Linked DNA regions of Homo sapiens: regions 2, 3 and 4 are each linked to region 1. Evidence: promoter capture Hi-C in 16 types of primary human blood cells and fetal thymus (Javierre and others, 2016). All regions are on one chromosome and are shown on one strand. Each heading gives the region's core, a stretch centred on a gene start or on the middle of the fragment in contact. The rest is flanking DNA. Distances are from core to core; before and after follow the strand shown. Region 1 holds the start of TMX3 (thioredoxin related transmembrane protein 3). Region 2 holds the start of PIGN (phosphatidylinositol glycan anchor biosynthesis class N). Region 3 holds the start of ZCCHC2 (zinc finger CCHC-type containing 2). Region 4 holds the start of TIMM21 (translocase of inner mitochondrial membrane 21).

Region 1 (5,134 bases), core at 1,626-4,125:
AGGAACATTACAGACAGAATGAGAGGCCCACCATGTTCTATCTGCTGAGAATATCCTGGCCCACTGGCTTTATGAACCTGTCCCTGGACAGTATTGTTAGCCTTGACCGGGGTCTGACAAGCAAGCAGCTTTTTCACGTTGTTATGGTGTCTTCTCACAACTGTCGCAGTCCATGCATTCTTGCCCAATCTGGGATCCTGTCTGAATTTCCATGAGCCATCTCTTGTGGATCCCGGAGGCAACTGGTTGCACATCTGCTTGCTCTGGAGCAAGGAACAATTCATTTTCCACATTTAGCTGACGAACAGTTTGCTCTTGGTAAAGGTCCCCTTTTTCAGCATAGGGACCTTTCTGGTGAGCATCCACATGGGTAACAAAATGGTTATTAGGAGCAGAATCCCTTCCTCCTCCTCAGGAAGAGTTGCCCCTGTTAGGACACTCTGAAGGAGGAAGTCTGTAGTGACACACCCCACAAGGCACTAAGTTTAATAAGACTATCTCCTTGTTAACAATCGTTCTTCTCAGAATCAAAAACTTCCTGTAAACAATCAGTGAGCATCCCCCATGACCCAACAGCATGAGCAGCGAAGTGCCCCCATGGGACTGTCAGGATTTTTGCTCTTACAGAACAGCACTGTATGATCACCCTCTCACTGCACCCATTTGGTCATGCCATCAGGTGTCCAGGTAGTCAATCAGGACAACAAGCTAAACTGAAACTAACAATCACAGCTTTATTCACTTACTGTGACAGTGCAAGTCAAGAGGTTTAAAAAAAAAAAAAAAAAAAAGAGGCACCAGCTCCTCAGTGTTCCATCTCTCCCCATGAAACAGCACCAGGTGAGTCAGGTGGATGAGACACAGATGGGAGAATTCATCTCATTTCCTACAGCACTGAACAAAAGTCTTCTGTCTCTTTATGGGGGGTGAGAGAGAAAAGGACTAGAGTAGAAAAGTGCCTCCGCTGACACCCTCAATAAAGATGTTTTAGCAGAAGTGCTCAGGAAATGCCTCAGGTGAGGTCCCAATAAGGAGGCTGCTAAACAGAGACCACTGGGTTGGGAGTGTAGACATGCAAATGAGCGTGGCTGGCCTGGGAGGCCGAATCCTTGACTACCACTCCCTCCAGGGACTGTAATGCACCGGTTATACACCAAGTTTGGTGTAGGGAGGGCACCTTCCCCTATGCCAGAAAAAGCCTTGCAATTGTCTATGGTCAAGCCTGAAAGATCACACACAGGAATTTGGGTCTGAAGTGAACCTCCTCACTTACTATAAGCAAGGCTGATTAATGCTGTCATACTATGAAGATAAATACAGTACAGTTACCAAATTCTAACACCCATTCAATATAATTAAAGGAAAAAGACATAAATACAAGGTAAGATAATGAGGAAAAAAAGAATATGTAAAAGTTTGCCACAGTTTTTTGATCTCATAACTATTAATAAAACTCTTCTGGGCACACCCTCACCTTCACTTACAACAAGTGAAAAAAATGAGTGATATATAAAAATTGGTTCCAATCTAAAATATTAGAATCACATGCAAATATTCAGATATCTGAGTTGGACAGTTAAAATAATATTTTAAATATATATATGTATACTCACGATTCATCTAAATCTTCTACAAATCCTTTACAGACGACCATATCAAGTACAACAACTGAAAAAAAAAGACAAAATGTACACAATAAATGCTGATTATTTGGCTCATACCGTATAAGCTTAGTCATCTCTGAAGTGTTTTTGACCTTTCACAACCTACCAAAAAATTCATCACTGATGCATCCCAGGGTGCAAATGATGCAAAAGCAAAGGTAGTTCATCCATTTAATAAATATTTAGTCTGTATGCAACCATATCGTGACCGGCCAAGTTCTAGGTAAGCCAATAAATCTAATACACACAGTTCCTTTTTCCTCCATATTTTCACTCTCATCTTACGTCTCTTTTTAACCATCCTATCTTTTTGGAATACAAATAGACAGCATTCTTCTTTATTTCTTTTGCTTTAGTAGCAATTACCTCTTCCGTAAAAACTCCAAATGCCATTCAAAATATTTCCCCTCAAATAGATACGTAGGAAGAAAGTCGAGCTGCAACTCTAATACTTATTACACGGCAGTGCCTGACACAGAGTGGGCTCTAAAAGGTTGTTAAGTGAGCGGACCCCAGTGAGAATGAGGGCACTCCATGCTGACGGGAGGCAGCTGAGAACCGCTGACACACACTCAGGTCCTTTTCACACCGCACAATCCCGGCGGCCTGACCCTGATCTGTCCTCGACCACCCTCTCTTGAGTACTGGTGGTAAAAATCCTTAAACGTGACAAGACTCGGAACCTAAAGCCAAGGCAAGATTTGGTCGTTAAGCTGGGACGGCGGCATCCTTCTTGCCCATCAAAGGAGTAAGCTTTATTGAAACTTCTGCCACAATGAGAAAAACACAAACACAAGGCAGCGCGCCCTTCCCACGTCCAGCATTGGTCCGGCACAGCGGCGGCGGAAGGACCCCAAGGTGTCCGCTCCGTCAGGGCCAGGCAGGGTGGCGCGGCGGGGGCGGCAGGACGCTGCCGGGAATGGGTGGGCATCTCCACGAACCCCGCAGGCCTCGCCCCAGACCCGGGTCCAATCCCGGCCCCACGGCGGGGCCAGGTCCCACGCGCCCGCCAGCGTCCCGACCGCTGAGCCCCCATTACCTGTGGCGCAGAGCCGCAGGGCCGTCCAACTCTTCCACGCTGCCATGCTAGCCCGGGAGAGCTGCAGAAGCTGACTGTGCAAAAGAGGGATAAAGACACTGGGGTCCGCCGCCTGCCCGCCCGGAAAGGGAAACGGAGCCGACCCGGAGCGGAAGAGAAGCACCGCGCTAACTACGGGGGCGGGGCTACCCGGCCAGTCTCCGTCTCCGGCTATGCGCGGGAGTGCGGCGCATGCGAGGGGAGTGCGGCGCATGCGACAGCGCCTGCGCAGTCATGTCTTAAGAATCCTTTGCGCTCTCGGTGCCCCCCTCCACGCCCAGGAGCGTGGGAACCCTGCTTAAGGGCTTTACTAGGGAAAACGGTGCTGGTTCACTGGGGCGCGTTTCCGGGAAGGTGAATACCGGTGAAAGTTATGCTGAGGGTGAGGTAGGCTCTGACGACGCACTTGCAGGTTGAATACTGGCACATCATTTACTTGTTACTCCCGTGTGGTGAGTGCACCTGTGGGTTTTGATGCTGGATCAAATTCCTGGAAAGAGGCGCGCATTAAGACTGCGGATTGCTGAGCTGCGCGACACTCCGTATTTTTCCAAAACGTATTTGTAATATTCTTTCAACCTGTTTGCATAATGGGACATCTCTTAAATGCAGCAAGCTTTAATGCATTTTTGCCAAAGTAAGGATTGCCTCTTTAAAAACTTTCTCTTGAAACTTGAGAACATGAAGTTAAGCGTAGGATATTTTTTGATGGCTCTTTTCTGATTATTTTGGAACTAGATAAAGTAGTATGAAATATTTATATTGCTACCTGTTTTTTCTTCTATACGACAATGATTTGTAAAAACCATATACTTTTATAAGACGGTTACTGCAGCAATCACTACTTACGAACTAGATGAAATTTTTATGGGACATAAGGTACCAGAGAATTTAGATCAAACCAAATTTTGAAAACCTGTGACAACAACAGAAGGGGGATATGATGTCAGCCGGTTCACCTTAGGTTCAAAATTCCAACAGGCAAAAATGTCATAAAACGTCGTTATTCCTAGTGACTAGAAGATTAAATTGCACTCTAATTGAGAGCAAGCCCTAAATGTCACCCCCTTTGTGCATGCAGCATGGTATCCAGCGCAAGCCCTCTACAGATTCAATTTTTCTTTTTCTTTCTCTTTTCCTTTTTTTCTTTTTTTTTTAAGAAAAAAGTAGACTAAAACGTAAGGGGACTGTTGAAATGATGGGAATGTTCTCCCGGTGGTGGTGGAACAGCTTTATAATAGTACCATCGCCTCGATACTCTTATACAGAAGCTTTTCTACTTTCTTGGCAAGGTCTCTGAATGACCCATATTCAATTTTTTTTTTTCATTCTCATGTATTTCAAAGTTTTCTGTCTTCCACAGCATGCAAAGTGAAATAATTTCCTCTTATATTTGCGTTACAGTTTAAGTTCACATGTGGACAACAACAAAAGCCAGTTGACCTAGATCTGTGCTTTTCAGTAGTGTAGCCACTAACCACATGTGGCTATTGAGCTTTTGAAATGTGCCTAGTGTGATGAAATAACTGAATATTTATTTTTTTTAATTTCAGTAAACTCAAAAACTGACACTCGATTCAGCTATTGGAAAGTTTTTTTAATGTGGTTGGAACAACTGAGGTATGTGAATCTACTTTTTCAACTGTAAATTTTATGAAATCTAAATACTGATCAAGTCCCAGGCATGGGTGGCTCATGCCTATTATCCCAGCACTTTGGGAGGCTGAGGCAGGAGGATTGCTTGAGGTGAGGCGTCTGAGACCAGCCTGGTCAACACAGTGAGACCCCATCTGTACAAAAAATTAAAAAATTAGCCAGATGTGGCCTGGCGCGGTGGCTTACACCTGTAATCCCAGCACTTTGGGAGGCCGAGGCAGGTGGATCACGAGGTCAAGAGATCGAGACCATCCTGGCTAACACAGTGAAACCCCGTCTCTACTAAGAATACAGAGAATTAGCTGGGCGTGGTGGCAGACACCTGTGGTCCCAGCTACTTGGGAGGCTGAGGCAGGAGAATGCATGAACCCAAGAGGCCGAGCTTGCAGTGAGTTGAAATCGCGCCACTGCACTCCAGCCTGGGCGACAGAGCAAGACTCTGTTTCAAAAAAAAAAAAAAAAAATTAGCCAGATGTGGTGGCACACACCTGTGGTCCCAGCTACTCCAGAGGCTGAGGTGGGAGGATAAGTTGGGCCAGGGAAGTTGAGGTTGCAGCGAGGTGTGATCCTGCCACTGCATTCCAGCCTGGCAACAGAGCAAGACCATGTCTCTATAAAATAAATACCAATTAAGTATTTCTGATGAAATTAGAGACGTTGTAATGAGATGTACTATAAATGTAAAATATACACTGGATCACTGGATTGGGGAGAAAGTATAAAACTGTAAAATGTC
Region 2 (5,134 bases), core at 2,396-4,895, 6.5 Mb before region 1:
GGCCCCTTCTTTTATTCAAGTATCCCACTGCTATAAGACCTTTGTAGGCTCAATTCCTCTCTGCAGAATGTACTTGCAACCTATCTTCCACTCTCTCCTAACATTCCATTTCAAGCATCACTTCCTCAGGGACTATGCAGGTGAAGTCAGAAACGAAAACTTTTACTTCAGTTTGTAATTACATAGCTTTGTCTACGACTATTTGAATTAATGTCTGTCTCTGTCACTTCACCACAATTCCATGACAGCAGGACGGGGCATCTCCAACACCCATCAGAGTCTTATGCACTTAGTAAGGACTCAAATGTTTGCTGAATAAATTATTTAGAATTATCATTTCAAGGGTAAATGCAATATGCACTACAGCCACTAGAGGATGCCCTGCTTCTGTTTTTGTTCCTCCAGAACAAGATGTGAAGACTGAAAATACTTTAAAAAAAAAAAAACTAAACCTTTTATGATAAAGTAATTTACTATTAATGTAAATAAAATTGCAGTTATTACAAAATATCAGCATTCACTAACTACTTATTTTAATTAGTTTAATTGCTTAATACTAAATATTACTTAATACTTCTCTTTAAAGAAAATCACAATTTATTCAGATTTATTGAAAAAGAAATACCTCCAAAACAAACACATAACTATTAAAATTTTAAAAAGATATATGCATGTACCAATACAAGTTATCTAGTTTATCTGTGGATGTTTACCACACACTGAAAAACAATAAAACATGAGGTATTACTAAAACCTCAAGTCAACCAAAACTTGCATTCAGAATATTACTTGTGGTTCTTTTAAGACTATTAAAACCTAAAATAATTTTTTAAATACTAAAATGATTGACGTGCTTTGAAAAAAGGCATCTTTTACATCTTCATTGCTAAGGCACAAGCTTTAATAACTATCATTAGTCAGATGAAACATTAGTTGTAAGGGCCTAGATTAATGAAAATCTTACTAAGTAGAAAGGAAATTTCCCAACACTATTAATAATACATTATTATAAGTAGTGATCGGTAATTTTTAATATTCCAGTGTGTGTTACTTATACATTATTCACGAATAACCAAACCTCTGTGTATTGTGGAAAAGAAAAGTACATACTGGGAAGACTGGGCAGTTGATTTCTAATGGGCTTACAAGATCAAACACACAAGTTCATGGTTATAGGATAGGAGGCAGAAATAGAAGCAGAAAACCACAGATTTGTATGGGAAGAATTCCTCTACATGCAAGTTCTTACAACTCTGAGGAAACATTTTAAATCTATTTTCAACTTGTGTTTTAGAACTGAGACCCCAAATTAAAGATACTCCCTTCAGCCCTACTGACTTAATTGCTTTTTCAGGCTTGCACTGCCAAAACGATTGATATTAGTTTTATTTTTAAACACTTGTCAAATGTTCTCAACACATACTAATATTTCAATAATTAATAAGTGACCACAGTAATAGTTATTGTGTAGCAGGTACCAGGCACTGGGACAAGAACATTCTCAATTCTGTGTACTTTCCTTATCCCCTTTGATAGACGAATGCAAGTGAGGCTGAGAAGTTAGGTAACTTTTTCAAGGTCTCACAATAAATAATGAGTAGAATTGGGATCTGAACTTAAGCTTTTCTATCTTATAAGCATAATCCTCTTCAGGAATCCTAAATGCAGGAGATTTCTCAATTTCCCAATCATGGAGATGGAAATATTGTATATAAACAATCCATTTCTAATCATGCCCTTCCCATGCCATTCACTAATCCTCCATTCCTGGATTCCAGAAATTGGTTCCATTTTAATCTCTCTGGAAAATCCAACTAAAATACGGATCAGCAATCCCTTTTGCTAAGAAATCTCTAACAGGATACAGTATTTGCCATTTCAATTCTATTTGGGGGGATTTTTTTCCCCATGTTTTACTTTTAATATATGGCACAGAAAACTATTTATCATTAAAACATTGGGAACTAATGTCCTATAAAAAAATAGTTTAAATTCTTGGTACTTTTTTTTTAAACTTCTAGCAAAAATAAAATTTTAAAAACCCAAATCCCCATTCAAATGAAAATTTTAGTTTATTGAGCCTGGGTATATTGAAATTAAAGCCTACTCTTAACTGTTGGCATACTTTTACATGTAAACCAATAACCTGACCTAAGGTTATGTAAGAATCGTCTATTTTAATTTTTCCATGGAGCTAACGGGAGATACTTTACTGTGGAATGTTTACTACACACTGAATGTAATATGTCACTTACCTGTACACTAAGAAAGGAAATCTAAAGCCTGGAAAAGTGGTCATTTGTGTGTGAAAAAAATAGGAGCCATAAGAAATAGCAGTCTAATTGTATTGACTGGAAATTCCTTTACCTTTTCAGATCATAATCAAGGAATGACATAAAAGATAAACGTTGATCTTCTAAACTTAGGATATGTACTTTATATGCTAACATTTCATCAAAAAAATCAAAACTCTCTGAAGCATTCAACTTTTAAAATAGTTCTAAGTTCCAAAACCTTGATTCTAGCCTGCATGAACGAGTCAGAAATGTTGCAGGAGACAGTGGATAAAGAATCGTTTGGGACATAAGAGAAATGATGTTAATTCCTTTGACTCCTTATTAGCGGAATTGATTTTTTTTTTTTTTTTTTTTTTTTTTTGAGACGGAGTCTCGTTCTGTCGCCCAGGCTGGAGTGCAGTGGCGCGACCTCGGCTCACTGCAATCTTCGCCTCCGGGGTTCAAGCGATTCTCCTGCCTCAGCCTCCTGAGTAGCTGGGATTGCAGGCTTGCGCCACCACGCCCAACTAATTTTTGTGTTTTTAGTAGAGAAGGGGTTTCACCATGTTGGTCAGGCTGGTCTCGAACTCCCGACCTCGTGATCCGCCCGGCTCGGCCTCCCAAAGTGCTGGGATTACAGGCGTGAGCCACCGCGCCCGGCGTGGAGCTGATTTTATAACAACCACTCTTGGCTTAAGTTTACTTATCTGTCTACTGGTGAGACAGCATTAGATATTCTGAAGGGTCCCTGTTGTGTAAATCGTGTATTAAATCCTAAGCGTTTATTGAGTACCTAACAATTTGTTTTCCAACTCGACGATGTTCCCAGATCCAGGCAAATGCCAACCTCAGCGTTCCCTTTTCCGTTTAGTCTCTCCAGCCCCCGTCCCCACCCACAGGCAGGACCACCTCCGGGGCTGAGAAGTCGTGCTGTCGCTAGGCCTCCCGAGTGTGCAAGCATGTGGCAGAGAAGGGAAAAGAAAGGAAGTCACATTCCGACTACAGGCCTGGGCACTTGCTATCCATGGGGACAAAATGTCACCACTGGCAGCAAATAGCGAGAAAAAGTGCAGCGCAGTAGGGAAACAGCGCGTCCGCGGGCGCGACACCACAGTTTGGGCGCCGACACCCTCCGCGCACTGGTCCCTGAACTTTACCTGGAGCTTATCCCGGTCAGGCCTGATCTCGAAAACGAGGGCTCCTCAGCGCGAAGGCAGGACCCAGCTCCATTAAAGCTCTCGGGCAGTGGTCCCCTCTACCCACTGAAGCGATAGCCGGGAGGGTATTCCTAAGCCACCACTACAACCACCCCTCAATTCCGGAACGCCCCCAATACCTGCCCGGCCGCTGCTGCTATCGCGATAATTCTCGGGCCAGTCTCCCGTCAGTCCGCTCCACGCCTTCCTTCTCTGACCAATCATGGAGGAGTCGTGGGTGGAGTTTTGCTTTTGAGCGGAGAGCGGGGCCTTCAATCTTTGCTATCTGGCGCTGGGAATGGGCGGAGCTGAAGTGGGCTGGGGCGGGGCTGGGGCGGGGCTAGATCGGGGAGAGGGGCAGGGGCACGCTCCAGTTCTCGCGAGACTGGAGACCAGGAAGACGCCTGCAGAGCCGGGCTGCTGGTGCAGCAGAGGCTGAGGCATCAGGTGCAGCTGCATCCGGATCTCCTGCCTTGGAGCGTACTCCTTGTCTCTAAGTCGGGAGGCAGGACGTGGTCAGGCCGGGGCTGTGGAGGTGCGCTGTGTCCCCTGAGGCCTAGAGGATTCGGGCTGCGGCCCGTCGGAACCAGTCAGGGAGGCGCCCACACTCCTGACAGGATAAGATGGCGGCGATGGCGCCTGGAGGTAGTGGCAGTGGTGGCGGCGTGAATCCATTTCTCAGTGATTCGGATGAGGACGATGACGAGGTAGCTGCAACAGAGGAACGGCGGGCAGTACTTCGGCTGGGCGCCGGAAGTGGCCTAGATCCTGGCTCTGCGGGCTCGCTGTCGCCACAGGATCCCGTGGCCTTAGGAAGCAGTGCGCGGCCAGGGCTCCCTGGGGAGGCGTCGGCGGCTGCAGTGGCCCTGGGGGGCACCGGGGAGACCCCGGCCCGATTATCAATTGATGCGATCGCTGCTCAGCTGTTGCGCGATCAATACTTGCTGACCGCCCTGGAGCTGCATACCGAGCTGTTAGAGAGTGGCCGGGAGCTGCCTCGGCTGCGCGACTACTTCTCCAATCCAGGCAACTTCGAGAGGCAAAGTGGAACCCCGCCGGGGATGGGGGCGCCAGGGGTCCCTGGAGCAGCCGGCGTTGGGGGCGCTGGAGGTCGGGAACCGAGTACAGCGTCGGGCGGGGGACAGCTCAGTAAGTGGACGCAGCCTGTCACACTCCGGCAGGGTATTTGGGATTGTACGGAGTTACTGTAGGGGAGAGGGGGTATTTCTGCGTGGGTCCCGATAGGGACATTTTAAGGAACGAGAGTATTGGGGTGGGGGCGCTCTTTTGCGGTGGAAGCAAGAGGATCAGGCAATGACTGTTCTCTCTGCCTGCTTCCAACCCTTGGCTGGTGTTGCACTTGGCTCCTGGCTCCCCTACTGGTGTCAGTATCTATAAAATATCAAGAGTTTCTAGTTCACTGGCTATTACGGGACTCCAGAAGGTTCCCTTTTATACTAGTTTATTGCTTTAAGCATTTTCCTTTTTCTCCAGTTACCTGAATCACACTACCAGGAAATAGTGTTACCTGAATTGCCTGCAGTAGTTCTTTGAGTCTGAGCCAGGAGAGAAAGAATAGGACACACTGCTGCTGTCTCCGAAAAGTCAGATGTACTTAAGACCCTTTGTCTTTGGGACGACTTTTTCACCGCCAAAATTGGG
Region 3 (5,134 bases), core at 1,181-3,680, 6.2 Mb before region 1:
TCACCACTATCACAATAATGTTATCTGGCCCACATGATTTGATTATGCAGGGAATACAAAAAAAAATCAGAAAATCTAGAGCAGGTGTTCTCAACAGGTAGGCTGGCTAAGAGGAATCCCTTTCTAGGGAGTCTTACTAGAATCATCAGGGTAGTTTTCCCAGCTTAAAAACTCACATGTCACAGTGGGACTTCCATCGGGGCCCCTCCCTCAAAAGCACTAGCGTTTTTTCACTCTTACTGAATGTGTTCTCTCACTTATGGTAACATGGAAAAAACATTGAGGCCTCCTTGTGAGCTGCAGTATGCAGAGACGGAGATAAACAACAAATTGTCCAGCTGATGGATAACCAAAATCATTAAATCATGGTATATGTCACTTATGTGTATAAGCTTTGATCACTATATTGTTTAATGTTGGCCAAAGCTATAAACACCCAAGTAATCATTATTGATTACAAATTTGAATTCTGGTATAAAATGTATGCATCAACTATTGTGGAGAGTTCATATCAAATGGCTTCTTATTGCCAAGGAAAATGCCCCTTTGACTGCGTCACATATAAAACTCAATTTGCCAGCCTGGGCAACATGGTGAGACTCTGTCTCTACAAAAAAATACAAACAATTAGCCAGGTGTGGTGTCACGTGCCTGTGGTCCCAGCTACTTGAGAGGCTGAGGCAGGAGGATCTGCTTGAGCCTGTGCTCCAGCCTGGGTGACAGAGCAAGACTGTGTCAATCGATCAATAAAACAAAAATCAACTCGGAGGTAAAGAATTTATTTGCTCACTAGATATCCAGATCTAGACAGCTGGCTCACTATGAACCTGTGAATATCTAGCAAGATTAATATTATTACTAGTTGCCTAAGTATTTCACCCTAAGCTTTAGAAAAGTGGGAACAGGAGATGAGATATGAGTAGAAGATCCCAGGGTAGTTGAGGGTGACAGCAAAAAAGGGCAATGACGTATAAGTCCTCATAATAAAGTTTTCTTGGCTGTAAATTACATCTAAAGACTGTAAAGAACTAGCAAATTACAAGAAAGAGTGACTTTTATATATTTTGCCAACCTCAAATGTGCTGAAAACAGTTCTCCCTCTCACCCTTTCATCCCCGAAACTGATTCAGGCTTCAGTTCACCCTTTTACTGAACTGTGAATGAGCCTCTTAGGACATAAACTTGTGAGGTGAACAGAGTTCAGCATATGCTCTCCCAACAGATGTTCCAGCACCACCGCAAAGAGTTACAATGTGATTCTTATCTTTCTGCATACTCCTACTACATAGCTGTAGTAGGACTTCTAAATTTAAAGTCTTAAGATTTTTTTTAACCCACCTTTTAATTAACCCTCAAAAGATCCAGCTGAGTTTTAAAAATTTGGACTATGTTGCTAAAAAAAAAAAAAAAAAAAAAAAAAAGTAACAGTGCGAGTGTAAACATCTTGGAAGCCTAAATCTGAAAAACGTAACAAAACTTTTTTTTTTTAAGTTTAAAGCCTGTCAAGTTGGTAGCTTATTAAATTCCTCCAGTCACATGAAATTCACAGCAGAACAAGGATTCAAAATGGGTTAGGCACCGAAATGTCATTTAGCAAATCAATGATTCCCAAAAGATAGAGGTTTAGGGGCGGGGAAGGGAGAGGCTTTTCCTAAACTATCCAGGAAATAATTTTCACAGAGCGTTACAGACTAGGAGCGTCCCCAGCAGCGCTCACCCTCGGCCGGCCGGGTCCCGCTGCGCACCTCCCGGCCGCGCGTCCCCACCTGCGCACGGTGCCTCCAGCCTGGGCGTGGGCGCGGCCCGGGATCGCGGCGCCGGGGCCGCAAACCGGGGCCGCAAACCAGCGCCGCCACCCGCGTCCGGACCCAGTCCCCTGTGAGCGACACCTGGCAAAGTTTCACAAGGTGGGAGACAGCCCACCGCCGGCTTTCAGGAAGTGCACTGGGCGGTGAGGACTCGAACGAGCTCGTCCCGGGGCTGGCGCACTCACTTCGGAGAAACCCCTGCTCCCGGGACGCGTTCACTCCGGCCGCGCAGGCAGCCCGGGCACCACTGGCGGAGGCGGGGCGGCAGCTGGCAAGCAGAGGAGAATCAGGAGTCCAAAGCCGGGCCAGGGCCCTCAGGAAAGGTGAGAGCGGCCGCGTCCCTCCGCTCACGTGGGCCTCGCACGCTCCTCACCGCTCCCGGGCTACCCTCACGCCGCCCCACGGCCCCAGCCCGCGTCCTCCTCCTGCCGAGCACCAGCCTTTAGGACCGCACGGAAGCCGCCGAGAGGGAGGCGGCCGGCCAGCAGTTGGGCGTGGCTTCCTGGAGAAAGGCGGCCCCCCAGGGGGCGGGGAGAGCGACGTCACCGTCGATTCGCGGTGCTGATTGGCGGAGGTGAGGTGCGCGGAGCCCGCAAGCTTCTCCGCCCGGCCCGGCTGCTCCACCTCCTCACCCAGCCGCTCCGTCCTCACCGGCTCGCGAGGGAACAGCTCAGGCACCGCCGCCCCGGCTCAGCGCGGACGGCGGAGAGAGGGAGGCGGAAGGAGGACACCCTCGCTCGCTTGCTCCCACCCGCACCCGGGCTCCCAGAACCGGCGAGGAGCCCAGGGGGAGGAGCCGTCGCGGGCACGCCCCGCCCCCAGCCCGGGAAGACGACGCCAGCGACCCCGCCGGCCGGCCACCGCCCCCCTCGCCGGCCGAGACCCGCCCCCGGCCCCGGCCCTCCCCCGGCGGCATGGAGGGGCCCCGCTCCTGACGGCCGCGCCGCCGCCTCGGCCCGTGCTCCACCTCGCGGCCCCTCCCGCCCGCCCCCGCTCGCATGTCTGCGCCGCCCTAGCCGAGGATGCTGAGGATGAAGCTGCCGCTGAAGCCAACGCACCCCGCGGAGCCGCCGCCCGAGGCGGAGGAGCCCGAGGCGGACGCGCGGCCGGGCGCGAAGGCGCCTTCGCGCCGCCGCCGCGACTGCCGCCCCCCGCCGCCGCCGCCGCCGCCCGCGGGCCCGTCGCGGGGCCCTCTGCCGCCGCCGCCGCCGCCCCGGGGACTCGGGCCGCCTGTTGCTGGTGGAGCGGCGGCGGGGGCGGGTATGCCGGGCGGCGGCGGGGGGCCCTCGGCGGCGCTGCGCGAGCAGGAGCGGGTATACGAGTGGTTCGGGCTGGTGCTGGGCTCGGCGCAGCGCCTGGAGTTCATGTGCGGGCTGCTGGACCTGTGCAACCCGCTGGAGCTGCGCTTCCTTGGCTCGTGCCTGGAGGACCTGGCGCGCAAGGACTACCACTACCTGCGCGACTCGGAGGCCAAGGCCAACGGCCTCTCGGACCCGGGGCCGCTGGCCGACTTCCGAGAGCCCGCGGTGCGCTCGCGCCTCATCGTCTACCTGGCGCTGCTGGGCTCGGAGAACCGGGAGGCCGCTGGCCGTCTGCACCGCCTGCTACCCCAGGTGGACTCGGTGCTCAAAAGCCTGCGCGCGGCCCGGGGCGAGGGCTCGCGGGGCGGCGCGGAGGACGAGCGCGGCGAGGACGGCGACGGCGAGCAGGACGCCGAGAAGGACGGCTCAGGCCCGGAAGGCGGCATTGTGGAGCCCCGGGTCGGCGGCGGGCTTGGCTCCAGGGCCCAGGAGGAACTGCTGCTGCTCTTCACCATGGCCTCGCTGCACCCGGCTTTCTCCTTCCACCAGCGGGTCACCCTGAGGGAACACTTGGAGAGGCTCCGCGCCGCGCTCCGCGGGGGCCCCGAGGACGCGGAGGTGGAGGTAGAGCCGTGCAAGTTTGCCGGCCCCAGGGCCCAGGTAAGGCGCACGGAGCCTCCCTGGACTCGCGGTGCGATCGCTGCCCCGGCGGCCTCCCCGGCCTCGCTCTCGGACGCCCCTTGCCCGAGCCCCAGCCCGGCGCAGGTGGCTCGGAATCCCCACCCGGCAGCTCCCAGCGCCAGAGGGCTGAGCTTCGTCTCGCTGGGCCGCTCCGTTCCACTCCCCCACCCCACCCCACACCCCGGCAGACACAGCCACCCGCCATCACAGAATGCTCTAGAAGTCCCTTCCGTGCCACGGTGTTGCCACGGAAGACGTGGAGCTCCCCGCCCGGGGCCCCTCTCGGAGGAAAAGTGTCGGGACGTTTTTGGCTCTGAGCATCTCAGCGCTCGGTGCGGGAGCCGCCGGGCGCTGGAGGAACCTGTGTGAGAGCCAGCCGCAGTGAGCCCCAGGCAGCGCCGTCCTTCCCCGCCTGCCTGGCCGGGGCTCCGCCTCCCGTCTCCGGGCTCTGCCGGGCCCTCGGCGGGGTGTCCTGAAGGTGCGCTCCCGGCGAGCTGCCCTTGTCTTTGGCACAGAGGGACTTTTTTTGCCCAGTGTGTGCCTGAGTTAAAAGGGGTCGTACGGGTCCTTGTGGCTTCTGCTCTGAGGGCTTGTGTTCCCAGCAGACATCTGACGTAGAGACCTGCGAATGGATCTGAGATGAGTAGTAACGCAGGTTGTCCGGGGAGAGAAACCTTTTCTAGCGCGGCCTGGGATGCTTTTTCCCTCCGGCACACGCGCTTTCTCACGGGCTTGATTCCTGCCTACAGATTGGGGTTCCGGGATATTTGTTGAGCGTTTACGATAGGCGTTAATGTTGCCCAAAAGAATCACTTAAACACCAAAATGTAGTAGACGAGAATCCAGATGAGACACTTGTCGCAAACATTAAAGATGAATTTTTTTTACAGCCATGAAAGCAATTTAATGATAATTAGGGTCCAGTGAGTCTTTGAGGAGGACTTTTCCATGGGAAGGTGGGGAGTAGGTTTCAGTAAGAGTGAGAACTGTAAAGTGAGATTATTTGTGGGGTCACAGGCTTTTGAAAGGTGTTGATTTGGATGCCATGTTTTTCAGCTTAGGTGATCTCTAGGAGATAATGGAAAAGGGGATTTTCTCCTCTCCTTGCTTGAACGTTAATTCAGTATATATATATCTGCTGTCATTCAGTACCCCAGAACTAAAATTGGGCATGGTATTTCACTAGTGGCTTTGTGGACTCAGTACCCGTGGAATCAATGGATTTGGGGCTGGAAGGAATTTAGAGATAATCTAGCCTGAACCCCTTTTTTAAAACGACGCTTCTGTGAGGTAACTAATTCATGTTTTGGGACGTATTTTATCAAACTCAGATGTAACGCTCTA
Region 4 (5,134 bases), core at 1,677-4,176, 5.4 Mb after region 1:
GCGTCTGCGCCGACGCTGGGCGCGGAGGCGTCTGGGGGCGCGGGAAGGACCTGCGCCGTGCTCTGGCCGCCTTGAATTGTGGGAGATGTAGTCTCTTTTGCGCGCCTCTTTGCCGTATCCCAGTTAAGAGCGAGGTTTTCAAACTACTATTCCCAGGAAGACGGGGGTTTCCCAGGTGACTTTGCGAAGGCATGGCGGGGACACTGTGAATGTCAGCCCAGAAGGTGATCAGAGCCTGTTAATTAAAATGGAAAGAAGACAGAAGGGAAGGTAGACATCAGGTTCTCCCTGGAGACTTTTCGTTTTCATTTACGCTGCGGAAACTGACGTTTTTGCCTAACACCCCATGTAATGTAAACGTATAGGCTTGAGTACGTGTCCGGCCGCATGTGTAGTGAACCCTAAAGCTTTCCTAATTGTAGTTAGCATCGTCCCTAAGCGGAACGATTTTCCGTGAACATGATTTGTACTTTTCTACGAGCCGTACAGTATACGGAGAAGCTGCACAGGTCCTCGGCAAAGCGATTGCTTTTGCCATACATCGTGCTTAACAAAGCGTGCTTGAAGACTGAGCCCAGTTTGAGATGTGGGCTTCAATATCAAAAGAAAACGCTGCGACCTAGATGTATTCTTGGAGTCACCCAGAAAACCATCTGGACGCAGGGACCGAGCCCCCGAAAAGCAAAGGAGGATGGCAGCAAACAAGTGTCTGTGCACAGGAGTCAGAGAGGGGGAACCGCCGTCCCAACATCACAAAAAGGTAAAAAGGAGTACTTTAATGATTGGGCTTTCAACAGACATGACAAGAGCTGCCAATGCCCTTTTATACCAAGTTCACTGCTAAAGGTGAAAAAGCAATTCACATGAATTTTTAAAAACCGTTTAAACATAATTTAGAACTAGAACATATAGATCTACAGTTTTCTTCACAGATTGGAACTCAGATGTGAAAGTTGATCTTGAATTTGATATAACTTTTTTTCATTATGTTTGGGAAATTTTTCTCAAGTTATATTGGCTCTGTTACATATAATAAAGAGTAATTGGATAGGATAAAAAGAGAGAGAGAGAGATTATTGACTCATAACTGGTAGGGAAAACTTTCACATGTTACCTGCAGTAATAGAAAAACATAAAATAGGGAGGATGGAATGTAAGTTGTCAGGGAAAGTCAGAGATGTATTCACAGATATTTTAAGATTTTTTTTTAATGTCTTCATTTCGCATGTGATTTGTAGGAAAAAAAAAGACAAAGCAATTTAGACCGCCATGATTATACCACACGAAGATGACTATTTTTAACATTTTGCACTTTCATACACATACCTTTTAATAATTTTTAACCCAAAAAATTGGATCATACCAATTGTTTTAGAGTCTGCTGACTATGCCAAAAACCTAGCTTTTCATTCATACTAGTTCAGCACGAAGGAACAACCTGTATGCAGAGGTGAAAGGCATAGAAGTGGCAAACAGCATGTGCATCAGGTCATCTGGCTCAGGCAACAGTGCTCATGCTTGCACTGCACACCAGGCCTGCTTAGGGACCCCTTCCCTCATCTGCACCCCATTCAGACGTGACAGTCCTTGTGGCTGAGTGAATTGATGGGAGCAACATTCCCAAATATGGAATATGCTGCGTCCAGAATTCAAACAGGCCTATGAAGCATTGTGGTAGGAGGTATAGGGTACAATTGTCTTTTACTTGGGAGGGCATGTCTTGGCACGCCCCAGTGTAGCCCCACGAGGTCGGCTCATGTGTTGATGAGCCTCTGCATCTTTGTTGGACCCACCTCTCACACTTGCAGCTTCTCTGACCAAGCCTTCTAACACACTTGCCACTTGTTACTTATGGGCTCTAACATGATGGCATAAATATAGTAGACAAATGTGATATTCTCCTGAATGTCCAGAACAGCATTATTCAAATAAAACTTTCTGCATAGAAATGTCCTATATCTGTGCTGTCCATTTGGGTAGTTCCTGGCCACTTGTAGCTATTTTGAGCACTTGAAATGTTGCTAAAACTTGTGACTGAAGAACTGAATTGATTTAATTTTAATTAATTTAAAATTGAACTGAAATAGCCATGAGTGGCAAGTGGCTACTGTATTAGACAGCCCAGGTCCAGAAGGTTTCAGTCCCTTAAGACTGTTATGATAGAGGGTGAGAGAATTAGCAAATCCTGGGCAGGATCATAAACATACACTGTTATTATCTGTTTCATGTTACTACAGACTACTGCTGCTGCTTCTGAATAGAAGGCGTTCTTCAAAGCAATGGCCAATACCATGAGATTGTGTTAATGCATTCCCCTGTAAAGTTACCATTTGTGGTATTACATGTGTACCCCGGCTGCCACTTGGTTGAGTTTGCAGTTAACCACTGTCATTCTCCAGCACCTATTTGTGTTTTGTAAAGGAAGACTGGTAAATTACAAGGGACCGTGATGGGGATCGCCATGCCTGTATCTAAGGTCTCTAAGAATACTCTGCCATTCCCCATAGATGTGATATCATTTTTAATTTCCTATCTTGGTCACCGAAAGGGCAGCTTCAGGGGCTTCCATTTGACTTTTCCCACTGCGATGGCTCTTAACCCACTTCCAAAGGAACTAAAGTGGGAGTTATTGTTGCCAGTTACTCAGTACATCCCCTTGATTTATACATTTGGAAATCACAGAAATTATTGCCAGGTAAGTCCCTGGACCCACCTGTGAGCTTCTTACATCCGGTGATGGAGGGCGGTCAGGGGGTCATCATGACTCTTTGGGTCCTTGGGTATCACTGTCAGCACAGACTATGTCCAAGTTGATAACTGTAGGTCCTTTTGGTGAAGGACGGGGGGAGTCAGTTACATACGCTTTCCTTCAGTAAATGCGTTCCAGGTCTGAAAACTGGTTCAGGTCCAGAAACTGGGGCAATGTTCAGGACTTTGCATTAGAGCAGCTGCCTTCAGCCTCAGGAATCATCTGTAGTTAATTTCTCATGACTGTGTAATTCAGAAGTAGCCTTGTCCGCTGCCCTTGTGTCTTCCCTTTGGAAACACTGTGTTCTAGTCATCAACTCTGTTGCTTTCTGTAGGTCAGACACTCCCGACTGCCACTCCAGCCTTGCCATTAGTTATGATGGTTGCACCCACCTTGGCTTCTGTTTAACACCCCAGCCTGGTCTCTGCTTCATAATTCTTTCATCTCCATTTCTGTCAGGGCATCCTGCTCTATAAAGATGTAACTGTGGCTTCCTTGTGGCTTTGGTACACAGTGTCCTCCTGTCCCTCCTAAGAACATAGTCAGCTGGTGGGTTTTCGGGCTTTATATCTTATATCTATGGTAGCATCCCCATTCTTGGAGGCTGTTGAGCCTTTCGTCCAGTTTGCCATGGCTGTTCTGTCACTTTTACTTAATGTGGACCATCACTGTCTCGAAGTTTCCAGGAGCAGACCTAGCCAGCTGCATATCAGTTCCCAGGGTGCTTGCCTGGTTGCTAAATTCATCACAGGAGCGTGCCCCATGCTGATCAACTCTCAGCTGGTTTTGTGTTCTGTGCCCTTGACACACCACCCTTAAGAAGCAGTGGTGTCTATGTTCCCCCCCCCCCCGGGGGGACCTCCAGCTCCTTCCGAGTATTGTTCTTCTCACCCTTCTCATGCCCAGTCGTGTTGTAACTTGGCCAGGAGGGGAGGTGGAGAGCCCTCCTGAGAGCAGCACGTATCTTGCTAGGCAGAAACCCCCACCCACCCCTCGCCCAGTTTCCAAGGTGGAGGAAGTGCCAACCTTTACCAGACACTGAGCTGCTGCTTCAGGGCTAGAGGGGTCAGGAGAATTGGGATTCAAGATTTTTTACAACATTGACCTCAAGGGCCCCCTACCCAGCTTTAGGTTGCCTTTCCTCCCAAATCAGGACCCTGACCTTGGTGTGGGAGGTCTCATGGGCTTGAAATGCCAAACTCCCTGAATCCCTTCCGCCCCAGACCTCACCCACGCATTTTCTATCCTCTGGGTGCAATTTGAGTCTTGTTCTGCCGGGGAGGAGGCTCCTGCCCTTGGCACTCACCTTCACTGGTGATTAGTTACACACTTCATCTCACCATCCCTCTCCATGGCCCCAGCCACAGCCGTCTGATATAAGTCCTTAAAATTGCTGATTCCTCCTAAACTCCCAGAATAACACATCAGCCAGTACATTCCCTTCCGCCAGCATTCCATCCCAGGTCCCCATTGGTGAGAGCTGCATCAGCTGCACTACAGCTCTATGACAGGTGCTGTCAGTACCCCCCTACCACCAGGGACAGGGTCCTCATTGCCAGCCAGTGGCCGGCAAGCCAGCTCCAAAATCCAAATTGAGAGCTGCTTACCACTCCTGGTAGCACCCGTTGTAGGTTGGCTTCCCAGGGAAGTGGGATTTGCGTAAGGTTTATCAGGGAGTGCTCTCAGAATACGTCTTGAGGGATGAGGGAAGCAGGACTGGGCAGAGGGAGAGGCCGAAGTGCATTTGCAGTTGGGGCCTCAGCTGCTGCTCTGGGGACTTCTGGAGCTGAGCTGGCCAGTCACTGTCCTACCTAATATGGGGGCTGAGTCTTATGCTTCTGCATCAACCAGGCATTGAATATGGGCTGGTCCAGGGAAGTGCCGTGACCTAAGTGAGGAAGCTCTCTTATGATGGAATGCCCAGAGAGGAGCTCAGCTGACAACTGTCCGCTACCAGTGCTCCCTGCAGCTGGGAGCCCCATACCACAGCACCCACTATAGGAGGGGTAGAGAATTGTGGAAGCAAATAAATGGCATGAGGGTTTTTTGCATACAAGTATTAGGTCTGATAGGGTTCAGAAAGTTAGACAGTGAGCAGCTTCCATTGGAGACAGCTATAAAGTAACAAACAGAAATTTTTCAAGTGTGTAGAATATGGAGAATATTTAGCACAGGGCTTTATATATAACAGATATACAGGAGCTGTTGTTTATCAAATAAATGGAAAAGACCTGTCAGATACCCTAAGCAAGGTAGGAATGAATTGTTGGAAGGGACAGTCAGAAGTCCAGGGTGTTGGGGCCAATGACCCGGTTTGGGTAACAAGGACAAATAAGGATACTTACTAGAACTAGTTAGTTGTTATTGTATTCTCAACCTGGGAGT

Evidence for each region. Contacts are between HindIII fragments. The CHiCAGO score rates a contact against its expected background, and 5 or more counts as called.
Region 2: a contact is called between the fragment with the promoter of PIGN here and the fragment with the promoter of TMX3 in region 1, in 3 of 17 cell types (total B cells, activated CD4 T cells and non-activated CD4 T cells). The highest score is 7.6, in total B cells.
Region 3: a contact is called between the fragment with the promoter of ZCCHC2 here and the fragment with the promoter of TMX3 in region 1, in 1 of 17 cell types (total B cells). The highest score is 7.3, in total B cells.
Region 4: a contact is called between a fragment that was not itself captured here and the fragment with the promoter of TMX3 in region 1, in 1 of 17 cell types (non-activated CD4 T cells). The highest score is 6.6, in non-activated CD4 T cells.

Annotation. Positions count from the first base shown.
Region 1 is chr18:68,712,233-68,717,366 of GRCh38, forward strand. TMX3 (thioredoxin related transmembrane protein 3) reads right to left here and starts at 2,876. Exons shown (of 16, transcript NM_019022.5): 1 at 2,704-2,876; 2 at 1,614-1,668. The coding sequence starts at 2,749. It also overlaps a transcript of CCDC102B not described here. RefSeq lists silencers at 2,524-2,623, 2,804-2,933 and an enhancer at 3,134-3,203. The HindIII fragment of the contact is 941 bases long and covers 2,416-3,356 here.
Region 2 is chr18:62,183,411-62,188,544 of GRCh38, forward strand. PIGN (phosphatidylinositol glycan anchor biosynthesis class N) reads right to left here and starts at 3,646. Exons shown (of 31, transcript NM_176787.5): 1 at 3,434-3,646. It overlaps RELCH (RAB11 binding and LisH domain, coiled-coil and HEAT repeat containing), which reads left to right and starts at 3,845. Exons shown (of 29, transcript NM_001346231.2): 1 at 3,845-4,621. The coding sequence starts at 4,096. RefSeq lists silencers at 3,148-3,360, 4,311-4,530 and an enhancer at 3,951-4,160. The HindIII fragment of the contact is 4,021 bases long and covers 1,620-5,134 here.
Region 3 is chr18:62,520,595-62,525,728 of GRCh38, forward strand. It overlaps ZCCHC2 (zinc finger CCHC-type containing 2), which reads left to right and starts at 2,431. Exons shown (of 14, transcript NM_017742.6): 1 at 2,431-3,769. The coding sequence starts at 2,831. RefSeq lists silencers at 1,685-1,794, 2,025-2,294, 2,325-2,824, 3,715-3,954, 4,195-4,324 and an enhancer at 3,140-3,713. The HindIII fragment of the contact is 5,111 bases long and covers 2,404-5,134 here.
Region 4 is chr18:74,148,350-74,153,483 of GRCh38, forward strand. TIMM21 (translocase of inner mitochondrial membrane 21) reads left to right here and starts at 174. Exons shown (of 6, transcript NM_014177.3): 1 at 174-760. The coding sequence starts at 460. RefSeq lists enhancers at 55-174, 205-254, 335-424, 2,168-3,367. The HindIII fragment of the contact is 5,042 bases long and covers 406-5,134 here.